2 separate regions of the Homo sapiens genome follow, and region 2 is linked to region 1. The links are contacts of gene promoters, found by promoter capture Hi-C in blood cells and fetal thymus (Javierre and others, 2016). All regions are on one chromosome and are shown on one strand. Each heading gives the region's core, a stretch centred on a gene start or on the middle of the fragment in contact. The rest is flanking DNA. Distances are from core to core; before and after follow the strand shown. Region 1 holds the start of OR11L1 (olfactory receptor family 11 subfamily L member 1). Region 2 holds the start of OR1C1 (olfactory receptor family 1 subfamily C member 1).

Region 1 (4,681 bases), core at 582-3,081:
GGGAAACCAAGGTTCTTATGATGTAGATGAAGTCTCATATGTTGCCAGCCTGAGAAGCAGCAGATGGGAAAAATGTTCTATTGAGACCTTTAAAAGGTGCTAGACTTTCAGCTAATCTCTTGAGGATCAGACAAAGGCCTGGAGAGGGAAAGGGATTCTCCGCAGAATGTAGATTTCCCCCACAAGAGACAGCTTTGCAGGGCCATTTTAAATATGACAAATAAATATATTTTGTGGTAAAATATTTCCATTTCCTTCAGGGTCGGCTGTCTGTCATGATGCTATACTAGAGTCAGGTTAGAATTTGGTAGCTTATTTCTACAGAGTCTGTTTCGTCAGCCTTAAAATCTCTTTTTTGATGTTATTGCTGCTCAGTTATGCCTGAATTCTGAAGAAAGGAGAGTGTAATGAGGTTTGTCCAACCCCCTCTTCCCATCATGATCTGAACCAGAATTTTTAGGTTTCTTTGAAATCCCCTTGGCTGAAAGGAGGAGTCCGCTCAGTCAGTTGTGGGGTTTAGAATTTTATTTTTGGTTTATAAGGGAAATACAGAATGATTGCTCTCCAGCAGTAAGGGCACACTGAGTTTGTTGGTTGTACATTTTAAAGAGGTTCTATTCTTGCTTGTCTCACTCCCTCAACTTCACAGAAGCTCCTGTATGGCAGGTGGATGTTTACTTTATCCAGAACTATAGACAATGAATTAAATGAAAGAATAAAAGGTGTACACGAGGGTGTAATTATAGTGGCTGAGCATGAGTATGGTATCGGATGAGGCAAGAAAGGACACCAGTGGAGTGAGGCAGATTAGTTCAGCACAGGCCTTCACACACACACACACACACACAAACACACACACACAAACACACACACACAGCAGGGACTAATAAATATTGTTTGAGGGTGGAATATATACACTTTCCCAAGATGGCATAGGAGATGTGCTGTGTCTGGCTTCTTTTTCAGACAAAGCCCACAGATGAGAAGGGAAAGGCATTTGCTTCCACATGTGCATGATTTTTTTTTTTTTTTTGAGACGGAGTCTCGCCCTGTCACCCAGGCTGGAATGCAGTGGTGCGATCTTGGCTCACTGCAATCTCCGCCTCCCGGATTCAAGCGATTCTCCAGCCCCAGCCTCCCACGTAGCTGGGATTACAGGCAGGCACCACTACACCCAGCTAATTTTTGTATTTTTAGTAGAGACGGGGTTTCACTGTGTTGCTCAGGCTGGTCTCGAACTCTTGACCTCGTGATACGCCCGCCTCGGCCTTCCAAAGTGCTGGTATTACAGGCGTGAGCCACTGCGCCCGGCCGTGCAGGATTTTTTTTAAAGCTTTGTTGTTATTGTTAGTTTTCTGAGTTTTTGTCCAGCTTTATTGAGGTGTAGTTGATAATTATTGTATACTATATATTTACAGTGTACAACTTTGTTCTCGTAGATGTATTCATTGTGAAATAATCATCACAATCAATCCAATTAACATATTCATCACCTCAATTTTTCTTTTTTGTATGGTGAGAACACTGAAGATCTACTAATAAGAGTCCTTTTTTGCCTGTCTTTGGAAGGAGACTTCAAGATTTCAGAGAACCCAGATGAATGAAACTTGCTGAGTCTCCTTACAAGATCTAATATTCACATTCAGCTTAAGATTTCAAAATGTATTCTTACGAAAGAGATATGGAATTATGCATTTATCCTTCTAAAAAGCTGTGCATACAGATCTAAACTATTTAAAAATTAATCTCTGAAGTTCCAAGCATCACCAGTGATAAATTTGCGCCTTGCATCCTGTGCTTTTCCAGAATGTTTTTCATCCCCCACAGGCAATGGAGCCCCAAAATACCTCCACTGTGACTAACTTTCAGCTGTTAGGATTCCAGAACCTTCTTGAATGGCAGGCCCTGCTCTTTGTCATTTTCCTGCTCATCTACTGCCTGACCATTATAGGGAATGTTGTCATCATCACCGTGGTGAGCCAGGGCCTGCGACTGCACTCCCCTATGTACATGTTCCTCCAGCATCTCTCCTTTCTGGAGGTCTGGTACACGTCCACCACTGTGCCCCTTCTCCTAGCCAACCTGCTGTCCTGGGGCCAAGCCATCTCCTTCTCTGCCTGCATGGCACAGCTCTACTTCTTCGTATTCCTCGGCGCCACCGAGTGCTTTCTCCTGGCCTTCATGGCCTATGACCGTTACCTGGCCATCTGCAGCCCACTCCGCTACCCCTTCCTCATGCATCGTGGGCTCTGTGCCAGGTTGGTGGTGGTCTCCTGGTGCACAGGGGTCAGCACAGGCTTTCTGCCTTCCCTGATGATTTCCAGGTTGGACTTCTGTGGGCGCAATCAGATTAACCATTTCTTCTGCGACCTCCCGCCACTCATGCAGCTCTCCTGTTCCAGAGTTTATATCACCGAGGTGACCATCTTCATCCTGTCAATTGCCGTGCTGTGCATTTGTTTTTTTCTGACACTGGGGCCCTATGTTTTCATTGTGTCCTCCATATTGAGAATCCCTTCCACCTCTGGCCGGAGAAAGACCTTTTCCACATGTGGCTCCCACCTGGCTGTTGTCACTCTCTACTACGGGACCATGATCTCCATGTATGTGTGTCCCAGTCCCCACCTGTTGCCTGAAATCAACAAGATCATTTCTGTCTTCTACACTGTGGTCACACCACTGCTGAACCCAGTTATCTACAGCTTGAGGAACAAAGACTTCAAAGAAGCTGTTAGAAAGGTCATGAGAAGGAAATGTGGTATTCTATGGAGTACAAGTAAAAGGAAGTTCCTTTATTAGGTAAAGAAAATTGCACAGAACATGCAGTGGATTAAATTCAGGGTTAAGTGAATGGTAGATTCAGACCTTTAAACCTGAAGATCATTGTCAGAACTGCATTGAATTCTGTAGGCCACAAAACAACAGCTTTTTGAGGGTTCCTCACTAGCAACTGGTCAGAAGATAAACTGCCTCCATCAAACCATTTTGAGGTCAGTTTTGTCCTAGACACTTTCTAACATCTTGTTAGGAAAATCTGATTGAATTCCAGTGGATGGTGATTACACACACATTACTTTCACATTCTACAATAAGATTTCCCTTTGTTTACATAACCTTATGTACAGAAAGCTCTGCATCTTTTAAGTACTCTTAGTAGACTGGCCTTGTGGACCTAAAACCTGGTGGGTGCCATTGGTGCTTATTAAATAGCAGTAGAAAGAATAAATAAAAAAAAGAAGACATTTAAAATGTTTGTTGACCTACATTATCTCCTAAAGATAAGAAAGAAGTAAGGCCTTTGAAGTGCCAAATATTCATCTACAAGACCTTAGATGTTTTAGTGTTTTTTGTTTAATGAAATTGTGGGAAGGAAGGGAGGGAGGGAGGGAGGGAGGAAAGGAGGGAAGGGAGGGAGGGAGGAAGGAGAAGATCCTCAGTATTCTGTGCTACTGTGAGTCCTGAGAGTCAGAGGATGTCACTAAAATGTTTAAATCACTTTTTATTTTCTTGAGACAGAGTCTCACTCTGTCGCCCAGGCTGGAGTGCAATGGCACGATTTTGGCTCACTGCAACCTCCACCTCCCAGGTTCAAGCGATTCTCCTGCTTCAGCCTCCTGAGTAGCTGGGAATACAGGCATGCACCACCAGGCCCAGCTAATTTTTGTATTTTTTTTTTTTTTAGTAGAGATAGAGTTTCACCCTGTTGGTCAGGCAGGTCTTGAACTCCTGACCTCAAGCTCCACCCGCCTCGGCCTCTCAAAGTGCTGGGATTACAGGGGTGAGCCACCGCGCCCAGGCTCTTAAATCACTTTTATAGTTTATTTTATTCAGCCAGTTTAGAAGATCTCTACAAATCCTGCCCATTGTTTGATTCATTAATTCTACAAATATTTTTAATCTCATGAAGCATGCCACGTCCTGTGCCACAGTCTGAATTTCCCGGAAAGACAATGACATAGAAAGGACCAAGCAAGCCAGGCACAGTGGCTCACGCCTGTAATTCCAGCACTTTGGGAGGCCAAGGTGGGCGGTCACCTGAGGTCGGGAGTTCGAGACCAGCCTGGCCAACATGGAAAAACCCCGTCTCTACTAAAAATACAAAATTAGCCGGGCAAGGGGCATGCCTGTTATCCCAGCTACTAGGGAGGCTGAGGCAGCAGAATCACTTGAACCCAGGAGGCAGAGGTTGCTGTGAGCTGAGATCATGCCATTGCACTCCAGCCTGGGCAACAAGAATGAAACTCCATCTCAAAAAAAAAAAAAAAAAGAAAAAAGAAAGAAAGGGCCAAGCAAGACTTTACCTTAATAGACCTTCCAATGCAGAAGGGAGGAGAAAAATGTAACAAATCATAAAGCAATGATTGATTTATTTCTACTTGTGATGATCACTATGAAATAATAAAGTGAGGCCGGGCGCAGTAGCTCACCCCTGTAATCCCAGAACTTTGGGAGGCCGAGGCGGGCGGATCATGAGGTCAGGAGATCGAGACCATCCTGGCTAACACAGTGAAACCCCATCTCTACTAAAAATACAAAAAATTAGCCAGGTGTGGTGGCGGGTGCCTGTAGTCCCAGCTACTCGGGAGGCTGAGGCAGGAGAATGGCGTGAACCCGGGAGGCGCAGCTTGCAGTGAGCCGAGATTGCACCACTGCACTCCAGCCTGGGTGACAGAGCGAGACT
Region 2 (4,681 bases), core at 617-3,116, 81 kb after region 1:
TTGCTTGGATGTCAAATTATTAACATGAAGCTTACCATTCACCCCATCTCTTCATAGGCACGAGTTAAAGTAAATCAAATTTTGTTTGGCAGTGACACAAATATATTTTGTCTTCTTGAATGTAAGCAACTATTACCTGGGTATTTTTATAAGGTTTAACATGCACAAATAGAGCACGCAAACGTAGGTCTATGTTTCACCGTGTCGGCCGGGACGGTCTCGATCTCCTGACCTTGTAATTTGCCCACCTCGGCCTCCCAAAGTGCTGGGATTACAGGCGTGAGCCACCACACCCAGGAGCTTCATAACTTCTCTAAGTGTTGTTTCTTTCTCTCTAAAAGGAAAATTAACTGTCTCAAAGCTGTTTTAGGTATTACCTGAGAGGATGCATGAAAAGCCACTTCATAGTGCACCACACATGGTAATTATTAACAGAGCATCCCTGTTTTGCTCCTTTCCAGGTTTCTAATTCCAAAGTGTTTTCAGTAGCTCATGGATCTTCTGCAAGAGTCTAATGCTTAATACTTATGTTCTAAAAGAATTTACAAAAGCTATTAAGTTATCCACATTGTATGAACTCTGAGACATACATTATCACTAAACATAAATGTAAATAAATCTCCTTTCAATTGATAATATAGAGGTCTTCCCCATATTAGAAAAAAATGTATAAATGTGTTTGTAAATATATATGTACACTTATACAGACATACACAAATTGTTTATGTATATAATATACAACGTATACCTTTCACTATATATATGTGTGTGTGTCTGTATACATATATATACACACACATGTATAGTATACATATATATATACACACGTATAGTATACATTAAGGTTATTTGAATGTTTGTCATTGTAGTCTGTTCTTATATTTACCTAAATACATTAAACCAAAAACTATGTGTTTAATAAAATATTGATTTCAATAAAGAAGAATAAATGCATCTTTGGATTCAGATAAATGGGCCTGTGTTTCAAATGTTTTGAATACTGGTTGGTTTAGCTGTAGTCTTCAGACTAAGTTATATACTGTGGAGTAACGGTGTAGCTCATGGTATGAGTTAAAACTATTTATCTATGTATATATCTGCAACCACCCGCACACATAATCTTTATCTAATGTACAGTGAAAAATCTCATTTCCAAACACACTCTCTTTTGGTTTTCATTTTTATTGGCACATATTTGATTATCCCAGCCATTAATTCATTAGATGATCAGAAGCTTCAGGATAACCTCTGGGTCTATGCACAATTCAAGGTTTTTATATAAATATTATAGTTTTTATAGCAACTAAATGAGATAAGTAGTATTTGTATTTTTATAGATGAAAAACTAAAACATACAAAATATAATACCTTGTGCAAGGTCAAGCAACTATTAATTAATTTACAAATGAAGATTTGAACCAAAATGTGTCTTACTCCAAAAGTGGTTGTTTATATCACTGTATCTCTCTTTAGCACTAGGGAGACAGGATAAGCTGCAAGTTTTATGGAGATGGAATAGATAGGTTTGTAAAATTGTGGCTTCAGTTTCCCATCTTTTTGTATCATTCATTCACCCAAGCACCCTGTAAAGAAAACAAGAATGTATCTTGGAACCTTCATGAGCTTTCATGCTTTCTTCCCGCATACAATATTTCCCCCTGTGTTTGCCTTCTCTTCAAAATAAGAGAAAAACCAATTTATAAACTAAAGTCATTAGAAGCTAAATTTAGAACTTCATGAAGCCTCTTGGGTGCTGATCTCAAGGGACAAAACTGTGCCATGTTAAAGGCCTGCCCCCCTTTGTATTATCAAAATAAATGAATCTAACCAAATACTCACCCCGTGAGATACTGTTATTCTCTGTCGAAAGAAACACACTTGTCTATATCTCATTCTTCTCTTTTTCACTCTTGACTAGAAATCTGAATCAATGCATAGGTCCATCTATGCTTTTGTGATTGGATATTCAGGAAAGAGAAAAGTCATAGGTGGCAAAGGTCTCAGAAAAGGGTATGTATTCATACATTTTTTTCTTTGTTTTAGTGAAGACATACCTAATGTATAATCCTTTGAGTTGTAATGCATGGAAGTTTTTTGACGAAGCTGTTAAGCATTTCAATGGTGGACTAACTTTTTCCAAATCCTAGTTGAGAAAATTTTGAAATTAAGATGATGTGCTGCAAATGAGAATATAGAATTAAAAGATATCTTGCAAAACTCATATATTCATTATATAATCAAATGATTTCTCCAGAATTTTTCATTCATTTGTTGTTTCCATAAGCACTCTTTTGCACCAACTCTGTGCAAACTACGTGCATATATGTGTTATATCCTAAGGATTCAATATAATAAATCGCAATTCTTTCCTTAAAATTTCACTAACTACAATGAAGTAGACCAAGAAAAAGGGGAATTGTTATGCTTGTCATGAAAGGAATATTGTATAGTGAGTATGAGATTAATAAAAATGATGTAACTGATAGTGCCTACAGGGGAAGGAGACTGTCTTTGAAAGAGTGCTTCTCCCTCAAAGGCATGCAAATACATGCATAGTTTCTTTTCCGTACAGATTTTATCCTGACATGCTTCAAGTTGGGTAAAAGGGGGTGCATGGAACTTAATTAAAGTTGACAGGAATCAGAGGAAGATGAATGTAATAATTAGTGTTAGTGAGGTTTCTGATTAAGTTGGAATTCAAAACATTGTAATAGAAACAAATACACTGCATTGTGTTCTCTAGGGTTAATCAGCTGTCTTAGCATAAAACCAGAACATGTATATTATCTAGTGCTACATTATGTTATTTTCATTAGGATCCTTGTCATACAAATCAATAAAATAGAAGTCCTAGATAACTCTTGGAATATTGTGAGAAAATAATGATACTTGGACTAAAAATTCCAAATCTCTTCCCACTTCTACAACATGTCCTTTACTTGATAGCCATATGGCTTAAATAACATAACTGAAATAATATAGGTTTGAAAAGACTAGAAAGGCCTCAGATGTCAAGGAGAACGTTTGGGAAGGTATCACAAATTTTGCTTCAGTCAGAAAAAAACTTTGGTCCTAAATTGTGCACAGCACCTGGATCATAGAAATTGCTCAATAAATGTTTGCTGAAGGAAAGTACGGATTACATGAATGATGTATGTTTGCTTGCTTATTGTTATACAACACTTTGTATAATTTGATAATTTTTATAATTAAAAAGAAGGTATAAATTGGATTGATACAGAAGTGAGAAGTTGGAGAGTACAGTGAGGGACGTCAAGAAGTAAGACACTCTATGAAAAATGTTGATAGGTATGGGAGAATACTGGCACCTTCTAGAGAAGGTAGTATGACCAAGATGCTACAAGGAAGGGTCCTGAAAGCACAGGCCACAAACACTGGGCTCTCAATGACTTACTACACAAGTCAGAGGCTCCACCAAATGATGAGCAGAGACCAAAACAGCAATGGTCAACCCAAGGAACAGAGGTGAGCTTGCAGTTATCAGTGACCAAATACGTTAAAAGAAAAGAAAGCTAACATGAGGATATCTTCCATCATAAGTATAAGCATCAGATTGGGAGGAAAATTATTTATTAGAGGTAAATATTTCTACTGGGTAAGCATAAATAGCTTGACTACTAAAAAAATAACAAATAACCTTATATATAAAGTCGATATGAATTTTGTGGTTACTGTAGGCAAGGCAAAATAACCCAATTAAAATGGTTATTATTCACATAATTTGCATTTTCTTTTGGGGGAAGAAGTCAGTCTTGAAAGAAGTTGATACTGACATGTCCAGCATGTCTATGTGACTATGAAGACAGAATATCATGAACACAAGATGTCATTGGAAAGCATTCAAGCAAGCAAGTTTGGATGCTACTTACCTGCGCACGCATGCACACACACACACACACACACACACACACACTGTCTCTCTCTCATGAATAAGAGACTTAACACTGCTGGCTTTTACAATTTAATAACTTATTTTTCTAGATTTGTTGGGAATATGGAAAAAAGAAATCTAACAGTTGTCAGGGAATTCGTCCTTCTGGGACTTCCTAGCTCAGCAGAGCAGCAGCACCTCCTGTCTGTGCTCTTTCTCTGTATGTATTTAGCCACCACCTTGGGGAACATGCTCATCATTGCGACGATTGGCTTTGACTCTCACCTCCATTCCCCTATGTACTTCTTCCTTAGTAACTTGGCCTTTGTTGACATCTGCTTTACGTCGACTACAGTCCCCCAAATGGTAGTGAATATCTTGACTGGCACCAAGACTATCTCTTTTGCAGGCTGCCTCACCCAGCTCTTCTTCTTCGTTTCTTTTGTGAATATGGACAGCCTCCTTCTGTGTGTGATGGCGTATGATAGATATGTGGCGATTTGCCACCCCTTACATTACACCGCCAGAATGAACCTGTGCCTTTGTGTCCAGCTAGTGGCTGGACTGTGGCTTGTTACTTACCTCCACGCCCTCCTGCATACTGTCCTAATAGCACAGCTGTCCTTCTGTGCCTCCAATATCATCCATCATTTCTTCTGTGATCTCAATCCTCTCCTGCAGCTCTCTTGCTCTGACGTCTCCTTCAATGTAATGATCATTTTTGCAGTAGGAGGTCTATTGGCTCTCACGCCCCTTGTCTGTATCCTCGTATCTTATGGACTTATCTTC

Evidence for each region. Contacts are between HindIII fragments. The CHiCAGO score rates a contact against its expected background, and 5 or more counts as called.
Region 2: a contact is called between the fragment with the promoter of OR1C1 here and the fragment with the promoter of OR11L1 in region 1, in 1 of 17 cell types (megakaryocytes). The highest score is 5.2, in megakaryocytes.

Annotation. Positions count from the first base shown.
Region 1 is chr1:247,839,046-247,843,726 of GRCh38, reverse strand. It overlaps OR11L1 (olfactory receptor family 11 subfamily L member 1), which reads left to right and starts at 1,831. Exons shown (of 1, transcript NM_001001959.1): 1 at 1,831-2,799. The coding sequence starts at 1,831. The coding sequence ends at 2,799. The HindIII fragment of the contact is 3,435 bases long and covers 1,336-4,681 here.
Region 2 is chr1:247,757,741-247,762,421 of GRCh38, reverse strand. OR1C1 (olfactory receptor family 1 subfamily C member 1) reads left to right here and starts at 1,866. Exons shown (of 2, transcript NM_012353.3): 1 at 1,866-2,010; 2 at 4,003-4,681. The coding sequence starts at 4,016. The HindIII fragment of the contact is 5,228 bases long and covers 1,237-4,681 here.